7 separate regions of the Homo sapiens genome follow, and regions 2, 3, 4, 5, 6 and 7 are each linked to region 1. The links are contacts of gene promoters, found by promoter capture Hi-C in blood cells and fetal thymus (Javierre and others, 2016). All regions are on one chromosome and are shown on one strand. Each heading gives the region's core, a stretch centred on a gene start or on the middle of the fragment in contact. The rest is flanking DNA. Distances are from core to core; before and after follow the strand shown. Region 1 holds the start of CFAP300 (cilia and flagella associated protein 300). Region 2 holds the start of MMP27 (matrix metallopeptidase 27). Region 3 holds the start of MMP1 (matrix metallopeptidase 1). Region 4 holds the start of MMP20 (matrix metallopeptidase 20). Region 5 holds the start of MMP8 (matrix metallopeptidase 8). Region 6 holds the start of MMP3 (matrix metallopeptidase 3). Region 7 holds the start of MMP13 (matrix metallopeptidase 13).

What was found. Contacts are between HindIII fragments. The CHiCAGO score rates a contact against its expected background, and 5 or more counts as called.
Region 2: the fragment with the promoter of MMP27 here is called in contact with the fragment with the promoter of CFAP300 in region 1 in 11 of 17 cell types (total B cells, total CD4 T cells, megakaryocytes and 8 more); the score reaches 19.8 in total B cells.
Region 3: the fragment with the promoter of MMP1 here is called in contact with the fragment with the promoter of CFAP300 in region 1 in 9 of 17 cell types (neutrophils, fetal thymus, M2 macrophages and 6 more); the score reaches 12.9 in neutrophils.
Region 4: a contact is called between the fragment with the promoter of MMP20 here and the fragment with the promoter of CFAP300 in region 1, in 14 of 17 cell types (non-activated CD4 T cells, erythroblasts, activated CD4 T cells and 11 more). The highest score is 15.1, in non-activated CD4 T cells.
Region 5: a contact is called between the fragment with the promoter of MMP8 here and the fragment with the promoter of CFAP300 in region 1, in 9 of 17 cell types (total CD4 T cells, naive CD4 T cells, non-activated CD4 T cells and 6 more). The highest score is 18.3, in total CD4 T cells.
Region 6: the fragment with the promoter of MMP3 here is called in contact with the fragment with the promoter of CFAP300 in region 1 in 6 of 17 cell types (M2 macrophages, total CD4 T cells, monocytes and 3 more); the score reaches 10.1 in M2 macrophages.
Region 7: the fragment with the promoter of MMP13 here is called in contact with the fragment with the promoter of CFAP300 in region 1 in 11 of 17 cell types (total CD4 T cells, M2 macrophages, monocytes and 8 more); the score reaches 13.2 in total CD4 T cells.

Annotation. Positions count from the first base shown.
Region 1 is chr11:102,045,816-102,049,096 of GRCh38, reverse strand. CFAP300 (cilia and flagella associated protein 300) reads right to left here and starts at 1,660. Exons shown (of 7, transcript NM_032930.3): 1 at 1,517-1,660; 2 at 1,201-1,282. The coding sequence starts at 1,626. The HindIII fragment of the contact is 7,683 bases long and covers 762-3,281 here.
Region 2 is chr11:102,704,460-102,707,273 of GRCh38, reverse strand. It overlaps MMP27 (matrix metallopeptidase 27), which reads left to right and starts at 1,505. Exons shown (of 10, transcript NM_022122.3): 1 at 1,505-1,661; 2 at 2,499-2,737. The coding sequence starts at 1,560. The HindIII fragment of the contact is 3,149 bases long and covers 1-1,705 here.
Region 3 is chr11:102,796,336-102,799,528 of GRCh38, reverse strand. MMP1 (matrix metallopeptidase 1) reads left to right here and starts at 1,369. Exons shown (of 10, transcript NM_002421.4): 1 at 1,369-1,541; 2 at 2,029-2,273; 3 at 2,367-2,515; 4 at 2,740-2,865. The coding sequence starts at 1,437. It also overlaps the pseudogene WTAPP1. The HindIII fragment of the contact is 10,818 bases long and covers 1-3,193 here.
Region 4 is chr11:102,623,542-102,626,658 of GRCh38, reverse strand. It overlaps MMP20 (matrix metallopeptidase 20), which reads left to right and starts at 1,327. Exons shown (of 10, transcript NM_004771.4): 1 at 1,327-1,465. The coding sequence starts at 1,340. The HindIII fragment of the contact is 723 bases long and covers 1,138-1,860 here.
Region 5 is chr11:102,723,651-102,726,732 of GRCh38, reverse strand. MMP8 (matrix metallopeptidase 8) reads left to right here and starts at 1,779. Exons shown (of 10, transcript NM_002424.3): 1 at 1,779-1,979. The coding sequence starts at 1,878. RefSeq lists an enhancer at 1,373-2,572. The HindIII fragment of the contact is 5,644 bases long and covers 1-3,082 here.
Region 6 is chr11:102,842,321-102,845,528 of GRCh38, reverse strand. It overlaps MMP3 (matrix metallopeptidase 3), which reads left to right and starts at 1,920. Exons shown (of 10, transcript NM_002422.5): 1 at 1,920-2,087; 2 at 2,613-2,857; 3 at 2,950-3,098. The coding sequence starts at 1,983. The HindIII fragment of the contact is 9,261 bases long and covers 1-3,208 here.
Region 7 is chr11:102,954,482-102,957,765 of GRCh38, reverse strand. It overlaps MMP13 (matrix metallopeptidase 13), which reads left to right and starts at 2,034. Exons shown (of 10, transcript NM_002427.4): 1 at 2,034-2,180; 2 at 2,273-2,514; 3 at 3,160-3,284. The coding sequence starts at 2,061. RefSeq lists an enhancer at 1,402-2,601. The HindIII fragment of the contact is 7,221 bases long and covers 1,528-3,284 here.

The DNA of each region.
Region 1 (3,281 bases), core at 411-2,910:
CTATTTTCTTTACTGCCCTTATCACTATATGAAATAATCAGATTGTTTTTTCATTTATTGTAGTCTTGCCAAGGCCCGTACAATCTTTGACAGCTGGGCTCTTGTCTTGTTCCTCCTCGTATCCCCAGCACTGGAAGGAATTCCTAGCACATGATAGGCCCTCAGGAAGTGTTTGTTATGCCAAACTATAAACTACAGTCAATGCATGAAGGACATGAATGGCAGAGAATGAAGATAACTTCATAAACTGTAACAGTATTTTCCATTTGATTGAGGAGAAAAAAAAAACAGGATTGAAAATAATGGACTAAATTTTAACAAACACACCAAAACTTAAACTTTCAAGTGAGTTTTACCTCTCTCAAAGTAGTCACCTCTAGTAGTCAAAAGACTTATTCAAATCACTGTGCTACGGCTTCATACTTTTTTGGGGGAATTCCTCATTTGGAACTGTTGGTAGAGCCTGAAGCCCAGTTCTCAGAGTGGGTGTGATGTTGAGAAAAAAATCGAAAGTAATTTGGAGCTAGTAAATAAAGCGGCGATAAAGCTGTGTGATAATATTTAAAATATTTTAAAATGAGATGTGCCTATTGAAAAAGAGAGGCTGGGGGTGGTGGCTCGCCTGTACTCCCCAGCACTTTGGGAGCCCGGGGATTCAAGACTAGCCTGGGTAACATAGTGAGACTCTGCCTCTAAAAAAATTTTTTTTAATTAGCTGGACGTGGTGGCCTGCACCTGTAGTCCCAGCTATTCAGGAAGCTTGAGCCCGGGAGGTCCAGGCTGCAGTGAGCTGAGATGGTGCTACTGCACTTTATTCAGCCTGGGTGACAGAGAAAGACCCTGTTTCAAAAAATAAGTAAATAAAATAAAATAAAACAAAATAAAATGAAACAAAAATAAACAAAGGGAGAAACTAATCTTCTAGAGAGCGCGCGATCTTCCAGAACTGCAAAGTTCCCCGAGGCAAGATACAAGATGCTGAAAGTAGAGAAAGAATGAACTAAATGGCAAACAAATTTATGATGACTGATTCGAAACGTAAAAGTTCCTTTAAAAAAATCATTTGCACCTTTTATTACTCCCAAACGCCAAGAAAACGACGTCAGTAAGGAATAGCGTGTTCACAAGAATCTATGCCAACTTGGGGGGAAGTTTAAAAATCCGCAGAGACCCAGGGAACTCTCCGACCCCCATACTAACCATAACGAAATCATCCTTCCGATAGGACTGAAAGGTCTGGTCAAAGCCGAACGCCTGCGCCTTGATTCTGCCCAGCATGGACCTGGGGCAGAGGAGGAAAAAGAAATCATCTGGGGGCTGGCACCCTCTCAGAGCGCACCGATAACCGATCCCACCCACAGCATCCGCCCTTCCCGGGTGGTTCGGGGTTCACTCAGGAAGCCTCAGGGTTCACTCAGAATGGCGCCGACCCGCGCGGGCCCCTCGACGCCCGGCCTGCGCCTCCACAGCCGCGAAGACCAAGGGCCTCTTCTCTCCCTGTGCCTCGGTTCCTCACCACTGGCGGAGCCGGCTGGTGATCTCCTTAGAGCTCAGAGACTGGAAGGTTTTCTGAGGCAAGAACCTGAAGTAGTAGCCACCCAAGTCCCCGAGCTCCCCAGTAGCCATCGTGCTCTCGGCTGGGTGGATGCCTGGGCCGTTTCCATGGAGACGCGGCGGCCGTCGTGTCGGAGCGACGCTGCGGGGGCGGGGCCACACGTCTCTAGGGACCCAGGAGTTCCGGCCTTGCCGCCGCGGGTGCAGGGAGGGAGGTTAGCCTGTCTTTCCCAGGAGCTTGTGCCACTCCACTCCCCAACCCCGGGCTTGGCGGTTAGGGAAACTAGGGGTCGGGGATGGAGACAAATTGCCAATCGATACTTGTTGACATTAACTTTTAATAATAATTACTCAGCATGGGTTAATATTCTAGTCTCAAGAGCTATAACCTCAGATTTACAGTTATCTACGTTTGATGACTCAAACGTTTCTGAAGAAAAGATTATTCTGAATTAATTAGGTTTATCTATTTTGGAAGACAAATGTCTATGTGACTACTTAGGAAACTATTCTGTTTTACCATCTGTTTTTTTTTTTTTTTCCTTAAAATGTACACTTGAAGGCCAAAAAAAAAAAAAAAATGTTTCCATACACAGTACATTACAACATGCTGTTTATTTATTTTTGTTTTTTAGACCACTTTTGTTCTGGTATGCGTGCTGTTTAATAGAAAACACACTTTTCTTATTTTCTATTGAAAATTATCTTCGTTTCTACTTTTTTTTTTTTTTGAGATGGAGTCTCGCTCTGTTGCTCAGGCTGGAGTGCAGTGGCGCGATCTCGGCTCACTGCAACCTCCGCCTCCCGGATTCAAGTGATTCTCCTGCTTCAGCATCCTGAGTACCTGGGATTACAGGCTAAGTTTTTGTATTTTTAGTAGAGACAGGGTTTCCCCATGTTGGCCAGGCTGGTCTCGAACTCCTGACCTCGAGTGATCCGCCCGCCTCGGCCTCCCAAGGTGTTGGGATTACAGGCTTGAGCCACCGCACCCGGCCTGTTTCTATGGTTTTTATTTTTGCCTTATAGCAGTGCATTTGGACTTCAGAATGGAGGGATAGTTCTTTTCCATCTCGTTGCTTTCTCTCCTTTTCCCCTAGCCCTTAAGAACTTGATTATTTTTTAACAGCATTAGCAGAAGAAGAGACAGGGAACAAAGACAAAAAAGAGAAACAGAGGGAGAGAGAGATAGATTATTCCTTTTCATTGATGTTTAGTATTCTGTTACTTGACTATACTACAGTTTATCCTTTTGGGCTGTTTCCTCTTTGAGGTTGTTATGAAAGCAGCTATGAACATTCCTGTGTATGCCTTTAGATGGACTTATGCACCATTTCTGTTGGAAATACATCCAGGATTGGAATTGCTCAGTTACATGGCATAAGTATGTCTAGCTTTACTACATACTGTCAAAAAGTTTTCTAAAGATCAGTTTACATCCCAACCAGCAATGAATGAGATTTCCCGTTGTTCAACATCCTTGCCAACACATAGTATTGCCAGTCTTTTAAAATTTTAGCCATTCTAGGGAGTTTGTATTAATTTTTTATTGTGATTTCAGTTTGCATTTCCTTGATAGTTAATGTTGCTGAGCAACTTTGCAATATGCTGGGTCATTTGGATATCTTCTTTAGTGAAATGCCTATTTGAGTGTTTTGTCCATTAGGAGGAAGAAGGGTTGTCAGTCTTTTTCTTACTAATGTTTAGGAAGTTTTTATATAATATGGATA
Region 2 (2,814 bases), core at 256-2,755, 660 kb before region 1:
TATTTACAAATGTGGAGTTAAACATAAAGATAAAAAGCTATAAAAATAATTTAAAGAAGTTACCTTTGGGGAGCAGGACTTGAAGGAGCGAAAGGTTAGGGCAGAGAGATGCTTTTTCGTTACAACAAGATAGCACCATTTGACTTCCCTTTTTCTGGTAACTCTATTTTTTTTTAAATTTTGTTCTGAAATATTTTAGAGTTTAAAAAACACAAAAGAACAATACAATGAGCATACTTGTACTTAGCATACTTGTACTTAATACCATTATAACACAAATCCTGATCATGTCTGCCTTCTCCCCTTCATCCCATTGCTCCAGAGGCCAATTAAACAATTTAAACTATATACATATATTAAAACAGTAAATAATAATATTTCTGAAACAAGATTTATAACTGGGATGAGCTTTAAATGCAAAGGAAGTATGTATCTACTTAGATCCTATAAGTTCCTCAGCTATGCCATATAAATTTTGTTTAGGATATGGACAAGGAAGATTTAGAAAGGTGTATCGATTGAGGAGTTAACATTTGGGAAGAAAGGGAAGAAAATTTTAATAATTGGTAGAAGAAAAGGGGAGGACAAGTGAGGGAGGACATTGCTGTAACTAAGACTGTTCCTTCATCTAAAAGTAGCCCAAGTAAAGAAGAATATATTGAAATTAATCCAAAAGGCTCTCACTAACTATATTCTCACTTCTGATGTTAATTTTGGCCTTCATCATCCATGACCTCTATGACTCTTCATCTTCCCAGTCAGCTGTCTTGTCCATGAGACCCTCCATCCCATCTTCCATAGCTGTCTACATATGTATTTTGTTCCAGTCAGGCCAGATTTCCTGCAGCTTATTTCTGCTGTGTTACCTCCTTCCCATGGCCTCTTTGCACTCATACTTCTTCTTCCTTCCTCTGTAAATCCAAATTCTACACATTCTCCAAAACCCAGAGCAAGCCCTAGTGCAAGCCCCAGTGCAGGCTGTATTTAACTTGCATAAAACCTCAAGGCCACACTCATAAGCAATGATCTGCCTTTGGCCCTTCTTAGTCTTTACAATCTGCACTGTGTATTTGCCCACTTGCCTCCTTTTTGTCCTACATTAATTTCTGTATGTGTCTGAATTCTCCAACAAGATTGCATTCACAGGGGCAGGCAAACAGTAGGAATTCAATAAACATTTGAAGTTTATCTTAGTTAATAAGGGTAATCTGACTCCTGATTCATTTGTCTTTTTATGATAACATCCTACCAAGATATTCTGAGATTGCCTTCAAAAGAAAACTTTGCAAGGAAAAAAAAATAACTTGGAGGCTCACTTCCCAGTATATTCAATTCAGTAATAAGCACTAACTGTGTTTACTAAACAATTGCAGGCCAAGATTACAAAATCAGCTCAGTCAAAAAAAAAAAAAAAAAAAAGCAAATCATGACACACTTTATGGCAAGTGTCCCTTTCTGTTATTAATTAAATGATGATACAAGCCAATTCATGCCACGTCTCACTATTATTTTCTAAATTCTGTGCTAACAGAACCGGCTTCAGCTGAAGAAAGAGAGGAATGAAGCGCCTTCTGCTTCTGTTTTTGTTCTTTATAACATTTTCTTCTGCATTTCCCTTAGTCCGGATGACGGAAAATGAAGAAAATATGCAACTGGCTCAGGTACTGTCTTAATAAATGATATCGATGACTATTGATAAAAAGCTTATTTTATTGATTCTCTTGGGACCTAAAAAGAAAACACATTCCTGCAAAAGAGTCCTGAACTTTTTTGTGAGAAGGAACTGCTTTTCATTTGTCTATCTCTGACGATATCAGGAAATTGTGTTGGGGAGGAGGGCTGGCACAGGGAGGGGGAAAGGATCTGCTATAACTTTTAGCAATGGTCACAAATGAAGGGATGTTTAGTGCGAGGAGAAAGGAGAGAGCCCTGCAAGGTATGGAGATCACTATAAAAGCATTTCAAGACAACCAGGAGGACCCAATCTACAATTTGGAGCCCTAATCCCTATATGTATGAAAAAAAATACATTGCTTTACAGATTCCCTCTAAAAATCAGTTCAGTTAACTTTTTATTTTTGGTTAAAGCAAATACATGTGCAAAATGGATAATCACTTATTTATCCTAGAACTTGTTTCAAAGAAACACCAAAATGAAAGTAACAGCAAAAATATGTAAGATAGGTCATCATTCAACAGACAGACGAAGCTTCATTCTCTTCTGTGGAGGTTTAAGAGCTGCGTGCTTTGGCTAATTCTGGTCACTCATAAGTCAACCAAGTCTTGGAAATTGAAAGAGCAGGGTGACTCGTTATTTTCCTCTTTGTGTCCTTCCTTTCTTCTTTCCTCCTTCACTCCTCACTTTCTCTCATTACTTCTTTTTTTTCCCCTTTCCTATTGCCAGAAGGAATTTTAGGCAATTTTGCTTTATCCTGAGATGGAGATTTGCTCTCCTGTAGTCTGTGCCTCTTTTTTTTTTTTCTTATCTTTTTGGTCAGGCATATCTCAACCAGTTCTACTCTCTTGAAATAGAAGGGAATCATCTTGTTCAAAGCAAGAATAGGAGTCTCATAGATGACAAAATTCGGGAAATGCAAGCATTTTTTGGATTGACAGTGACTGGAAAACTGGACTCAAACACCCTTGAGATCATGAAGACACCCAGGTGTGGGGTGCCTGATGTGGGCCAGTATGGCTACACCCTCCCTGGGTGGAGAAAATACAACCTCACCTACAGGTAATGCTTCTGCCAGCTTATTTCCGCCTAATCCAAAGGAACATAAAGATAATTTCCAAGGAACAGAATAATATTCA
Region 3 (3,193 bases), core at 120-2,619, 750 kb before region 1:
GTAGGGGAGCTACAGAGATAAACCAACTTTTCTTACCAGGAATGCTACAGATAGCACTGGTGACACCGGTCACCAGTACCCAAGACAATTTAATGTGGAACATAAGTACAGGAATACACATCTTTCATTACAGAGCCATGTATTTATTTTAATGGGCAGGAGATGCTAAATAAGATCTTTTGAATGGAGGAATGCATAAATATATGAATGAATGCATACATGAAAGAATAAATAAATGCTGCCTAGCACCAAGGAGCGAAGATAGACTCATATCAAGGGAAACAAGTATGATTAAAAATAAGACCCCAGAGTCACGCTCAGTCTCTTTCCAGCCTTTTCATCATCCGGTACATTCAGACAAGTTTCAGGGAAGGATCCTATTTGTCCCATGATAATGATGGGCAAGGGGTGGGGAGTTATCTCATACTCCGCCTGTGGATGAGGGGTCTTCTCAGGTAAGGCTCTTAAATCCTAGGCCTGAGTAAATTTTTTCAAATTTTATTTTAGACAGGGTCCCTCTCTGTTGCCTAGGCTGGAGTGCAGCGGCACAATCACAGCTCAATGCAGCCTCAACCTCCCAGGCCCAAGTGATCCTCCCACCTCAGCCTCTTCAGTGACTAGGACTACAGGTGCATGACTCCATGCTTGGCTAACTTTAAAAAATGTTTGTTTGTTTGTTTGTTTTTTACAGAGATGGGGTCTCACCATGTTGCCCAGGCTGATCTTGAACTCCTGGGCTCAAGTGATTCCCCTGCCTCGGCCTCCTGAAATTCTGGGATTATAGGCTTGAGCCACCATGCCTGGCTCTGAGTAAAGATTAAGGGAAGCCATGGTGCTATCGCAATAGGGTACCAGGCAGCTTAACAAAGGCAGAAGGGAACCTCAGAGAACCCCGAAGAGCCACCGTAAAGTGAGTGCTGGGGGAGCTGAACTTCAGTCAGTACAGGTGCCGAACAGCCATCAGGTGCGCAGTGTTAGTAATTCCACCCTCTGCCCTGGGAGCAAGGTGTGTGGAGAAACCTGTAGCACTTTATGACCATCAGAACCAGTCTTTTTCAAAAAGACCATGGAGTACTCTTTGACCTGTGTATATAACAAGAACCTTTCTCAAATAGGAAAGAAATGAATTGGAGAAAACCACTGTTTACATGGCAGAGTGTGTCTCCTTCGCACACATCTTGTTTGAAGTTAATCATGACATTGCAACACCAAGTGATTCCAAATAATCTGCTAGGAGTCACCATTTCTAATGATTGCCTAGTCTATTCATAGCTAATCAAGAGGATGTTATAAAGCATGAGTCAGACAGCCTCTGGCTTTCTGGAAGGGCAAGGACTCTATATATACAGAGGGAGCTTCCTAGCTGGGATATTGGAGCAGCAAGAGGCTGGGAAGCCATCACTTACCTTGCACTGAGAAAGAAGACAAAGGCCAGTATGCACAGCTTTCCTCCACTGCTGCTGCTGCTGTTCTGGGGTGTGGTGTCTCACAGCTTCCCAGCGACTCTAGAAACACAAGAGCAAGATGTGGACTTAGTCCAGGTAAATGCTGCATTGCATGTGACAATAATGTAAATTTTTAGTTTGTATTTTTCTGCAGTAATGTAATAGAGTTTTTTAAGGATAGGTTTCTTATAAAGAGATTTTTTTTTTTTTTGCTAGAAACAGCACCCTCCACCCAAAATGTATCTAGCCATGCATACGCTCTCTTTTTCCAGTTGGAGGTGAGAGTGAACTAAAGGAACAACATCCAAACTTGTCTCCACAAATTGTAGACTTGTAACAGTATGCAAATCTTGCTCTACAAAAATTGCTCTACTATGAAGTTCTTACTTCACAATAACTAATAGTAGGGACATTTCTACTCTGAAATTTCATTTCTCACCAAAAATAAGGATAAAAGCAACTGCGAAATCTAAACACAAGGTTTAAAAGCAGTTCTCTGTTTTGGCTAAAACTTAATGCCATCAATTTTTAGAATAATGAGAAAGATTTCCCATGCAGTGTTTCGATAATTTTCTTTTGTCAGAAATACCTGGAAAAATACTACAACCTGAAGAATGATGGGAGGCAAGTTGAAAAGCGGAGAAATAGTGGCCCAGTGGTTGAAAAATTGAAGCAAATGCAGGAATTCTTTGGGCTGAAAGTGACTGGGAAACCAGATGCTGAAACCCTGAAGGTGATGAAGCAGCCCAGATGTGGAGTGCCTGATGTGGCTCAGTTTGTCCTCACTGAGGGGAACCCTCGCTGGGAGCAAACACATCTGACCTACAGGTAGGCAGACTGAGGGCCAGAGTGAGAGAGCTATTTCCCATGACAGTGGTAAGAAGTCATGTCCAATGTGTCTCTATTTTGTTTCATTCTAAGGATTGAAAATTACACGCCAGATTTGCCAAGAGCAGATGTGGACCATGCCATTGAGAAAGCCTTCCAACTCTGGAGTAATGTCACACCTCTGACATTCACCAAGGTCTCTGAGGGTCAAGCAGACATCATGATATCTTTTGTCAGGGGAGGTAAGTTCTTCTTATAGCACCTTAACCTCACCTTGCCCCTAGATCTCGTAGCTTTGCAACTGGAATTGATTGTTTAAGATGAATGTTGATTTTATGGGCTCGAAGAGGGAAACTGCATCACAGTTGATGGAAGTCTGTTGGCCTCTTAACAAAGCTAATGCTTGCCCTTCTGGCTTAGCTTACATAAGAACCACAAGGAATCTTTGTTGAATTGTTTCTTTCAGATCATCGGGACAACTCTCCTTTTGATGGACCTGGAGGAAATCTTGCTCATGCTTTTCAACCAGGCCCAGGTATTGGAGGGGATGCTCATTTTGATGAAGATGAAAGGTGGACCAACAATTTCAGAGGTAAGCCAATCAAATTTGCCTCTCTCAATTCTCCCACCCCTTCATGTTTCATTGTAATATTGGTTGATTTAGTTGAAAGAATGCATTCATAGAAGTATATATTTTTCTATTACCACTCAGAAAATTAGTGATACACTTAGAAAAGTGAAAGAGCGGTCTTTTCTGCTAGCTAACAACATCTTAGCAGTGACAACTAGGCCACTCTAAAATTTTTATTAAGAAAATTGTTGAAAACTTTGATGTTTTAATTGTGGGCATCAACATTGAAACTTTTTCATTAGAAGAAAACAGTGAAATTTAACAGCGGTCATAAACTTATGTGGAAATT
Region 4 (3,117 bases), core at 78-2,577, 580 kb before region 1:
CTATAAAACCATCATATCTTGTGAGAACTCACTCATTGTCATGAGAACAGCATGACGGAACCACCCCCATGATCCAATCCCCTCCCTCCCTCAACACATGGGGATTACAATTCGAGATGAGATTTGGTTAGGGACACAGAGCCAAACCATATTAATGTGTGACAAACTCTTGTTCAGTGCCTGGGGTTGTACACTAGATACCAAACATTGGCTGTAACTCCACCATCTTCTCTTCCATGCAAAGAAAGCATATCAAAATGCAACAGAGTGAGAAAGACTATAGGAATTCACTGTATTCACTATAGGAATAACCTTGAATTTAGTCTAAAATCAAAATTAGGATTTGAATCCACATCTAGTGGATGCCAAGTGGTGCTTGCAGATGTCATGCTATATGTGTTACTCCATAACACTGAAAAGTTTATACATAGTAGTAGTATTGTCAGTCTTTTGTAGATTAAAAAAAACTTGATATTCAGAGATTAAATGACATACCCAACATCACACAGCTAGGAAATATCTTTTTAAATATTTAGTCTTGCTTTGTCTGACTCTAAGTGCTTTTCCCACCATATGACACCATTTCACCGTATCATCTCTGGATCCAAATCCATCTTAATCAGACCCAGGAAAAACAATATGACTCCAATTAACCAGAGTACACAGAGATTGGGGAGTTCTGGCTATTGTTTTGGTTAACGAAGACGTAACTCTTGCCTTAATTCATCCAAAAGCTTTCTAACAGTTACCAGTTCACTTTCCACCCTAAGTCAGCACAGTATAATGTAATCTTGCCTTGATGATTCAGGATCTTATGTGTCTCAGAGCCATCATTATGAACAGCAGTTGCTACTAAGAAATTTTGAAGTGAATGCAGGAGATACAGGCGATTGGGTTGAATGCATGGGGAGTTTGGGATTACTTGGAGGACAAATTCAATTATACTGTAATCATCTAACTTTTCTGTAATCAGAATGGAAAAAGGCCCCCAAATGAAGACTAATCAAATGTTTCAGTTGAGTTGGGTTCAAATCAATCAAGTTTACTTCAATTTTTGTAACTAGCTGACCAACTTCATTAAAAGTGACTGTTTTTCTCCTTTTGCCACTTGGTAAATAACAAAAAAAATATGAAGCTTTCCCTGATTCCTGTGTACAGTTGTGTTACCCCATCATCAGGGAGAGAAATGAGCTGTATAATTACTGTTTGAGACATGAATCATCCTTGCTCGGAGGGTCCAGACCTGTTTGACTCTATAAAAGGAGCTCAAGGTCGAAGTGCAAACGTGCACTGTCTGCCATCCCCCAGGCTGATATAATTACCAAGCTACTGTGAGGGGATGAAGGTGCTCCCTGCATCTGGCCTTGCTGTCTTCCTCATCATGGCTTTGAAGTTTTCCACTGCAGCCCCCTCCCTAGTTGCAGCCTCCCCCAGGACCTGGAGGAACAACTACCGCCTCGCACAGGTTTGTGAATTTTTGCCCAATTCCTTCTTGCTCCTCTGCCCTAGAAAACCTAAAAGGGCATAGTGAGAAAATAAGAAAAAAATTCTATTGTTCTTTTAAAATCATTTTATATAAGTCCATTGAAGTCTAACTGATGCTATCTTCTGTCCACCTAGATTGGTGTCTGGTGCATATTAGGTGTACCATGTTACATGACTGAATAAATACATGAGGATATATCTACCTAGCTATCTTGCTTCATAAAGAATTCCAGGTGGCTTGTGAAAACCATGCAATATAAAAGGAGCAAACAAGTACTTCCCGGGAATGATGTAGGAGGAAAAATAGAAGCAGAAAAATAAAAACCGAGGCATAATCCACACGCTAGAGGCAGGTTGTGAATTTAGTGCTAAGCTTTAGCGGTCACAACAAGGAGATTTCCTGTGTTTCCACTTTTTAAATGGCTCTTATATTCAAGGTAACCCTGATCAAAATTTAAAGTGGACTAAGTTCTTCCTGGGTGCCAACCCACTTCTCATTTGAAGGCCTTTTCTCCCTAAAGCATATTCCCCAATGAAGTAAAAGTTTATGTACAAAGTACATAACAAAGTTTATGTAGTAAGTACAAAGTACAACGTTTATGTACTTAAACTTTGTGTATTTTCCTCTTTTGAGATCTCTCCTCTATGACTGCTGGAAAGGGTCTGATAGAAATGATCCATATTCAAATATTTCACAAAGACTGCTTGACTCAAAATGATTTCTACATATATATATATATATATATATATATATATATATATATATATATATGCTTCCAAGCGTGTTTTGTTTTTAAAAGAAGGGTGGCATCCTTAACCTAAAGAAATGGATGTCTACGGATGGAATTTCCAACATTAGTGAAAGATATATAGAGGAAATGCTTTTGCACACAGGCCTCCCTTTCAAGAGTCTGCCAACATTACAGCACATCTGTGATCACCAGCTCCGCCTCAGGGCTGCTTTCCTGACTGCCAGGCTGCACCTGTGTACCGCTTGGCTGTCTGCATCGTAGAGCTGATTTGCACCCATGTGCAATGGCATGTCCCTACCGATTGTTTCTGCCACTCATCCTTATTAACTGGTCAGTTCCCCGGCCATACCAGTCATTAAACACTTAAATATCAGCCCCGCAGATGAACAGCACAGCTGATGCCCAGCACAACCATGTTGAACTGAACTTCTTTTGACTTTAGCCCACTTTTAGATGAACTAAATTCAAAATAACTCAGGATACTGGGATCCTTATTCAATTGTATTTTGTCCATGCCACCTAGCTTTAGGTGCCTTCTTCCCAAATGTAATTTTCCCTACCCTGCCTCATGCCACTGTGATTCTGAAACTAAAGAGGTTTTGTGACCTCCAGAAGGAGAGCCATGCTGAGGCCAGAATGGATCTGAGGTGTTGGGAGACCCCCCTTCTAATCCACAGTTCAGGAAAACTACAGTTGGCCCTGCCCCTTAGTTTACAGATTGTCTATGATTGCTTTTGTGCCACAATGGCAGAGGTTAGCCTAGAAGCAAAGAATATTAATTATTGGTCCTTTGCAGAAAAAATTAGTCACCCCTGACCAGTCTATTAAGGAATAAGGCTAGACCAGCCAAGCACCAGTTTCATAGAAGACAGTTTTTCAT
Region 5 (3,082 bases), core at 530-3,029, 680 kb before region 1:
ACATTTATAAACCTTGTAAGCAAGCCATTGCATCAAAATAACTCAACATAGAGTTAGACCAATGTTAAGGCATTTTCGTGGAGGAAAAAGCATTTTTTCACCAAAGACCTAATGTAAAGAAAGCCACATTAAGCCATGAACTCAAGGAGGATGAACATGACCGTGATCTTTGAACAATTTGGCAGGAAGCTGTCACATTTATATTAATACAAAGAATGGGTTGCTACATCTCTGCATGTCTACATTCTACCTCTTCATGATCCGGTTCAAATTCCACCTCCCTCATGAAACCTTCCTTGATTTCACTCCCTCCACACCACTGCTGTTTCCTCCAAACACCCACAGCATTTTATCCAAACCTCTATTAATTTATCTCCAATACTCTAGCACCCATCACAGCATGTGGCATGTAGTAGATGACAGGAAATGTTTACTGAATGAATGTAGGAATATACATCATTAACATTAATCTGCTGTCCAGATATGTTCTAACCCAAGACACCTTTCTTTGGATCATTTTCAAAGTTCCTAAGTGACCTCAGGAAAGATCAGAACTCCTTATCATAGCATCTCAAATACACTCTTTACATATTAATACATGCTATGTATCATACATGTAGACACATGCATTTATACACAAGAATACCTGCCTTTACCAAATATGTATGCATATATGTAAATGAGTATTCACAAAGACTGTGTATGATAACAAACTACATGCATGTGGACTCAGAATAAGTGGGACCAGGTTACATGATTTGAAAAGCATGCCCAGGGGCCTCTGACAAACAGTCTCCTATGTAGCCATATTGTCTGGAAATCTCTCAGTGTCTTACTCCTTGAAGATGTACAACATCTCATTCTCCCTCTCCCTTGTCTTCTGCCTGTGAATATAAGCCAAAGTATCCAGCTGTTGAAGGCCTAGAGCTGCTGCTCCACTATGGCCCAGCCAGAGACTCAAGTGGGAGACTACCATGCAGAGCTTATAGTAGCTCCCAGCTCAGTCTCTCTAAACATACCCTCTGGGGTTGAATCCTGGCCCCTCCACAAATGAAACATGTGACTTAAACAGGTCATCTAAATGTCTCTGGATTTGATTTCATCTGTAAAATGGAGATAGTAATAGCATCTCCCTCCCAAGGCTATGTGAAGATGGATTGGGGTAATATGTGGAACACAGTACAAATGTCTGGGCAATCATAATTTTTTAGCAAATGTTCATTATTATCATCATCAGTATTGTTCTCTTTATCTTTTCCATGGAAAGTCTAACTTATAGACTAGGGATTTTCTAATATGTTGATACCAAACCACATCCTCCAGAAGCAGCTCTAGGCCCCATACAAAGCCTGCTTTGTAATAACACAGTCACTCATTCTCTCCACATACAATGAGGGAGGGTAAGTACAGAGATTCTCTAGTTGGGCTCCTTGGTCCCAAGATATCTACCACAAACCTCAAAATATTCCCCTGCATAAGTTAATTCAACCTCAACATCTTACATAGTCAAAAAATGTATCCACATAACTTCAGGATTAGTCCCTTGTTCCTTTTCCTCAACCAATTTTGTAAAAGGAAATAACTAAAACATCCAAAAGCAAAGAGTAGAAAGTTGGAGTTTTGAAAGACTGTTGAAAGACTCCCCCATTTGGGGGTACTAAATCACATTATAAAATTGCAAAACTGTCAGAGTGTAATTAACCTATGTTGCTTCATATTCCTGATGCAGCAATTGTTTAAGACATGGCTTTAAAGAGGACTGCAAGAGAGCTGTGAGTGACACATGATGCTGTGAACGTCAGGGTGCTCGCCAGGGAAGGGCCCTACCCAGAGGGACAGAAAGAAAGCCAGGAGGGGTAGAGTTTGAAGAGAAGATCATGTTCTCCCTGAAGACGCTTCCATTTCTGCTCTTACTCCATGTGCAGATTTCCAAGGCCTTTCCTGTATCTTCTAAAGAGAAAAATACAAAAACTGTTCAGGTAAATGAACTATCAGTTAGGTGATGTTTGATTTGCTGATTATTAGGAAATAGTGTGGGTTGTTTTCTCTTGTTAATTAAAACAGCCTGAAAGAAATTATTTGGGTGATTAGTTTGAGATTGAACATCTCCTTTTAGTGATTTGGAGGGTTCCAAGCTGGTAAGGACTAGGCCTTTTAAAAGCCGGACATGAAAACAAGCTGAATTCTTTAAAGGCTGGGAAAATACTGCTGTAGAGTTACCCCTAGTTGGGAAACTTTTGTAGAAGAAATGGTTTTATTTATAAAATGGTATCATTTTCTTTCTCATTTACCTAAGGTTTTTCCTTCCAGGATATCTGCAATCAAGTTACTATATGTCTGGTGCTTCCATACAGGCATTTTCTTTGCCGCCAAAAATTCCAGATATAGAAAATAATGTGAGGATGGTAGATTACAATGAACTAGAAATCAGTACACAGTAAAATCATATTTCCCAGCATCAGATTGTGGACTGTTTATAAACTCTTGGAAGCATTATAAAAGCAGAACCAATAGTTTTTTTCCATTGTTTCACAGTCTGAAAGTGAACCCAAATTTTTAAGAAACACAAGGGAATTCTGTCACAAATCTCTCATGCACAGTTTTCTTAGCATTATAGTTTGGAGAAAGCATTATTATTATTAAGAGGTTATCTCTTAATTGTAACCCCCGGGTTAATGTAAAGTCCATTGAGTGCTTATTCTATGCAAGGCAACTGCTACACATTTCACAAATATCTCATTTAATCCTCACAAGAACCTTATTGGAGCATTATTATTTTCATTTCAGAGACAAAAATATCTTAAATCAGATAAATAATGTGGCCAAGTGCTCACAGTTAATTCATGGCAGAGTTAAGATTTGAACCCAGGCCTGTCTGATTCCAAAGCGTGTGATCTGGTCAGTGTCACCTACTGCTGTGGTTAGAGTGTGTCCCTTGAATTTATGTGTTAAAGATTTAGTAGCCCATGTGACAGTGGGTCCTTTAAGAAGTACTTAGGTCATTAAGAAAGATTAATGACACTCTTGTGTGACTGGATTAATTTTTGCTGGAGTGGGTTCTGGCTCTTGCAGAACTGGATTA
Region 6 (3,208 bases), core at 671-3,170, 800 kb before region 1:
CATGGCCCATTTTGCCAATCACATCTTAACAGTTGGAAAAGCAAACATATTATCTATCAGGCTTTCCTCTAAACTTTAAATATGTTTTATAAGTTATAACTCCAGAGAAAATTTACAAAGGATAAACCTTAATATAGAAGGAATTAGAGCTGCCACAGCTTCTACACTTTTAACCTCTCAATATTTTATCTGTTGGGCTCCACTGTTTCTTCCTGGAATTCACATCACTGCCACCACTCTGTTCTCCTTGTCCTCATATCAATGTGGCCAAATATTTTCCCTGTATTTCAATCAGGACAAGACATGGTTTTTCCCCCCATCAAAGGAATGGAGAACCATAGAATACTAGTTTTAAAATGTCTTTAGGCCAGGTGCCGTGACCCATGTCTGTAATCCTAGCACTTTGAGAGGTTGAGGCAGGAGAATCACTTGAGCCCAGAGCTCGAAACCAGCCTGGGCAACATAGTGAAACCTCTGTCTCTATTTTTTAAATAAAATTTGAAAAAGTCTTTAGACATAATCTAGTCTAAAAATGAAGGCTTAAATGTGATGTATAGCCCCCTGCCAAGTGGCTATCAACTGTGTGGGCATCTTCAGTCATAGGGATCTTATTGCCACAGAGAAATCCCTTTAAACTTATTGGGTAAAATCTCTCCAATGTTTATTAAGAAACACACAAAAAATAAAGCAAAGAAGAAAATGCAAAAGAGTTATAAATGAGAGGAAGCAAAATGGGCACTTATTAAAGGTCTAATAAATGCACATTTGTATCCATCATTCTACTGAGTTCTTACTCCCAAGATGTTCTTCCCTTTAGCAAACAAATAAGCAAGTCAGCAAAGAAAGAAAGAACAAACAAAATGTGGTGATCAGGGAAGCATTGAGGAGATGGATGGTGGCAGGTGGCAAGAGGACTATAAAAGTTTTACAAAATGTCTTCCTCTGAATATGTTTAGAGTCTTGCATTCAAGCATTTATTATACACCAATAATGTGAGCAACACTTTACTTGACAAAGAAACAGAAAAGAAAGGAAAGGAAGAAAACAGAAGAGCATGAAGAGAAAATTTAGGATGGATTCTGTTCTTCAACTTCAAAGCATCTGCTAATTTGAATTTAGGGAGGAGGGGAAAAGGTTGAAAGAGAATAAGACATGTGTAGAAGACAAGGACAGAGAGAATTTCAGTCCGGTAAGCAATGTAATTCATTTCAATTCTACAACTATTTATGGAGCAGCTACGTGGGCCCATCACCCATTAATAAATTGGTTACAGAATTAAAACCAACCCAAAGGGAATATACTTCCTTCTTTTTCACAGACCCTCTTTGTTCTATTCTGCCCATGAGGTTTTCCTCCTCAAGAACCAGCAAATCCAACGACAGTCAATAGCAGGCATTACAAATCAGATTCAGAAAAATAAATCACCCCTTCTAAATTTCTTCTAGATATTATCTTTTATGTTTTGAGTATAATTGTATATAGTATAGACTATAGCTATGTATGTACACTTTCCACTTACATCTTTTATTTGCTTTTATAATGTGTTTCTTAAAATAAAACTGCTTTTAGAAGTTCTGCACAATTCTGATTTTTACCAAGTCAACCTACTTCTTCTCTCAAAAGGACAAACATAAATTGTCTAGTGAATTCCAGTCAATTTTTCCAGAAGAAAAAAAATGCTCCAGTTTTCTCCTCTACCAAGACAGGAAGCACTTCCTGGAGATTAATCACTGTGTTGCCTTGCAAAATTGGGAAGGTTGAGAGAAATTAGTAAAGTAGGTTGTATCATCCTACTTTGAATTTGGAATGTTTGGAAATGGTCCTGCTGCCATTTGGATGAAAGCAAGGATGAGTCAAGCTGCGGGTGATCCAAACAAACACTGTCACTCTTTAAAAGCTGCGCTCCCGAGGTTGGACCTACAAGGAGGCAGGCAAGACAGCAAGGCATAGAGACAACATAGAGCTAAGTAAAGCCAGTGGAAATGAAGAGTCTTCCAATCCTACTGTTGCTGTGCGTGGCAGTTTGCTCAGCCTATCCATTGGATGGAGCTGCAAGGGGTGAGGACACCAGCATGAACCTTGTTCAGGTAATTAACACTAACTGACCTGGCCAGGTGGGGAGCTTCCAGAGTAAGCTGAAACCATTCTGTGTGTCTTAAAACCCACATAGAATGCTTGAGCTTACTGTGTAGGAACAGTTCAAGAATAGAGAGTTATAGAGTGTTGGAAGTGGAAAAGGTCTCATTATCACACCATTTGGGCTTCTCCTCTTATGTAGGAAGAAACAAAGGCCAGAAATATTAGGTGTTTTCTTAAGATCACACAACACCATAGCAGTAGCAGCACTGGGGCTTAAGGCACATGAGTAACAAGTGGAGAGTGGATGAACCATATCTTGCTTTGGAACAGCTTCAGTTTTTTTTTTAATGCAACGTAATTTTAGCTAAATATTTGTGTTGCTAGTATCATATTATAAAATTTGCCATTATTTCAGCAAGCTAGAGAAATACTCCAAATAGATTAAGAAGTGAGCAACTGCAAAAACTTACTATAAATAGATAGCTATAGTAAAAATTGTAAGAGTGACCTAAAAACTATACTTATTCTGTTAGAAATATCTAGAAAACTACTACGACCTCAAAAAAGATGTGAAACAGTTTGTTAGGAGAAAGGACAGTGGTCCTGTTGTTAAAAAAATCCGAGAAATGCAGAAGTTCCTTGGATTGGAGGTGACGGGGAAGCTGGACTCCGACACTCTGGAGGTGATGCGCAAGCCCAGGTGTGGAGTTCCTGATGTTGGTCACTTCAGAACCTTTCCTGGCATCCCGAAGTGGAGGAAAACCCACCTTACATACAGGTAATGGTTCAGAGGGGTTTTCACATAAGATTGGAATTTTATAAACTATATCATAGGAGAAAATAGCATCTGCTTCAATTTTTCTCCTACAGGATTGTGAATTATACACCAGATTTGCCAAAAGATGCTGTTGATTCTGCTGTTGAGAAAGCTCTGAAAGTCTGGGAAGAGGTGACTCCACTCACATTCTCCAGGCTGTATGAAGGAGAGGCTGATATAATGATCTCTTTTGCAGTTAGAGGTAAAAAAAAAAAAAAAAAAAAAAAAGCAAAACAAAACAAAACAAAAAACACATGAAATGTATCCATTCATCTATCTGGTGTTGTTGTACTGGAAAAGGCTCAAAAGGGA
Region 7 (3,284 bases), core at 785-3,284, 910 kb before region 1:
TTGTTATTAAAAATGTTTTTTTTAATGGGGGAGGTAATATTGTAATGATCCTCAGAAAAAGGCCCTCATTTTAGCCTTCATTTCATTTCCATAGACACTAGCATGGTATCCTATATGGTTGATGCTCAATTAATATATTCATTAAATTGATAGATAAAAAAGCTTCTTTTCTTCTAGTTTGAAGTAGTAACATTTCTACAAATATGTGAAAATCTATAAGAACAGTTAGCCTATTTGATTCTTTTTCTCCACTTTCAAATGTTTAATAAAATGTTATTTGTTTTCCAGCTTCTTAAGCACTTCTTATCTAATGAGATTTTAATATATTATGAAAATTTATTTGTAAAAACAAATGCTTTCTAATAAACTAACTTTTATAAGCTTAGTCGATGAATCAAACTTTTTTGGATAATTTTTCACTTAATCTCAAAATTAAATATTATGATACATGGAAGCAACTTAAAATAAATTATTGCTTTGCATTCCTGATTGAGCACCAATCTAATCTTGAACTCACTGGAAACAATCTATTTGAAAGGGTATATTTGGCTGTATTTTGTTTGGATAAAGGCATATAGTAAATTTCCCTCAAATGATCACATACATGTTGTAGGCTTTTCTGATTTTTCTCTAAGGCACTGGCTACTCTAGATTATAGGATTTTACTCATATGTTAGGATACCCATTTCGTACTCACCCTAAAGCTGTATTCATGCTCCTTCTCTTTGTCTTACTATGTTCCTGACCTGAGCAGCATTTTCTTTCTGACTCTTAGTCACTCAAATTAACCTGCATTTCCAATCATTTATTTAAAGAAGTCCAATAAATCCAAAGATCATGGCCTATATTGCTCTACCCATTTACTTCTGCAGGGGACCAAAGATGGCACTTTGATTTCACGGTACTGAATGTGTGATGTTCTGAAAGGAATAATAGGGTAGAGGCCCCTAGGACTATTTTCCTGATGGTTGGACCAAGATTACTTCTATTATTCAAACTTAAAAATTGAGAAACTTGAAATTGGCCTACTGCAGCCCTAGTTTTCTTGGGCACTCCCTGAGGTGTAGGAACCAAACAGCTCAGCTTTTAAGAAAATATCTGAGAATGGAAAGGGTGGAGGTCATAATTAGACAGGGACGGTGGTCAAGAACATTGAGTTTTGAGTTATTGGCCTAGGTTCAAATCCTGGTATCATTTATAAACTATATGACCGTATACAAGTATTTAACTTCTCAGTGTATCAGATTATTCATATGTAAAATGGAAAACAAGCTTTCTGACAGCACCTATGTGGCTGTTGTAAGGATTAAATGAGATAATGCCTTTTAAACCTAGAATGCAGTAATCCCTGTTTGTGCTAGCCATTACAGTTGTTCCGTTCCAATGTAATTCTTCTACCTCTGTCTGAATCTGTAGGGAATTTATGCAGGACTCCATATTTGTCGAGAGGTCATGCCAGTGTGTTTAAATTCCAACCATGGGGCTCAATCCTGCGGTTGTGCCGTAGCACCTCCAAGTCATCAAGCTTGGTTTTGGTCCAATATCGTGAACTTCAGGTAGACACAAGACATCTCTCTGTAGTTATTCTAGAGAAAATGCAGTTTATAATTTACCAGGCAGTAGTAAACATTCTAGAATCAGTACTAAGTTTCTCTTTATGGAAGTAAACATGCCATCTTGATACACTTATTATTCGAAGAAGCAAAAGTAGATACGTTCTTACAGAAGGCAAAAAAAAAAAAATTTTGCTAAGTGAAGTAAAAAATGTACTACTCTCTGCTTCTTCCCACAGTATCCATAAATATGCTGAGGCCGTTTATTTTGCCAGATGGGTTTTGAGACCCTGCTGAAACAAGAGATGCTCTCATTTATATTTCCCTCAAATTCTACCACAAACCACACTCGGGAGGGAAAAGAAAAAGTCGCCACGTAAGCATGTTTACCTTCAAGTGACTGGGAAGTGGAAACCTATCCATAAGTGATGACTCACCATTGCAGGCCTATAAAAGTAAAGGTAATCTCTGCGGAAAGACAACAGTCCCCAGGCATCACCATTCAAGATGCATCCAGGGGTCCTGGCTGCCTTCCTCTTCTTGAGCTGGACTCATTGTCGGGCCCTGCCCCTTCCCAGTGGTGGTGATGAAGATGATTTGTCTGAGGAAGACCTCCAGTTTGCAGAGGTAGAGTATCTTGCCAATCCTGATGATGCGGTTGGTACATCTCAGAAATGTCCTTCTCTTTTAAACGCAGTTCATTTTGGTGTCTTTTCTAGCGCTACCTGAGATCATACTACCATCCTACAAATCTCGCGGGAATCCTGAAGGAGAATGCAGCAAGCTCCATGACTGAGAGGCTCCGAGAAATGCAGTCTTTCTTCGGCTTAGAGGTGACTGGCAAACTTGACGATAACACCTTAGATGTCATGAAAAAGCCAAGATGCGGGGTTCCTGATGTGGGTGAATACAATGTTTTCCCTCGAACTCTTAAATGGTCCAAAATGAATTTAACCTACAGGTAAATCATAGGCTATCTTTCTTTCATATTTGTTAGCCTTTTCTTGTAGTATTAAATGTCTAATATTAAGTAGGCCTTATTATTTAATTGGCAGTTAAATTCCAGAATAGCTTTAATATGGTTGCCGAGAATACCTCATAACATCTATTATTGTTACATTAACTCAGCATTATTTTTTAGTGGGCATCTCAAAGTATTTCTTTTAGAGATGAAATCAAAAGAGAAATAAAAGTAGGTTAAAGAAAATTTGCAAACATAGTACATTAGGTGTATTTATTACAACAGTGCTCAAGATGAAGAGTTCCACTCTTTCTAGAAACTTTACAGAGCTATTTCATTTATTTGAGCTTTATCAATGTAATCTAAACTTTTAGCATGCAAAATAAATTATATTAAACATTGGAATATTTTAAATTTAAGATGCCACATGGTCAGATATTTGGAGATACTCAAATGTGGCTGAATTTTTGACTTTTTATTCTTGTATGGCATCATAATTAATACATTATTTGAAACAATAAACCTCTAGTAGAACTTTCAAAGAAATTATTGCATTTTGAATTGAAAAGCAATATACCAAGAAAATGTATTCTAAAATAGCTGTCACTTTCCAAAAAGTTCATTGAAACTTTCTCTGTTAAATAGAATTGTGAATTACACCCCTGATATGACTCATTCTGAAGTCGAAAAGGCATTCAAAAAAGCCTTCAAAGTTTGGTCCGATGTAACTCCTCTGAATTTTACCAGACTTCACGATGGCATTGCTGACA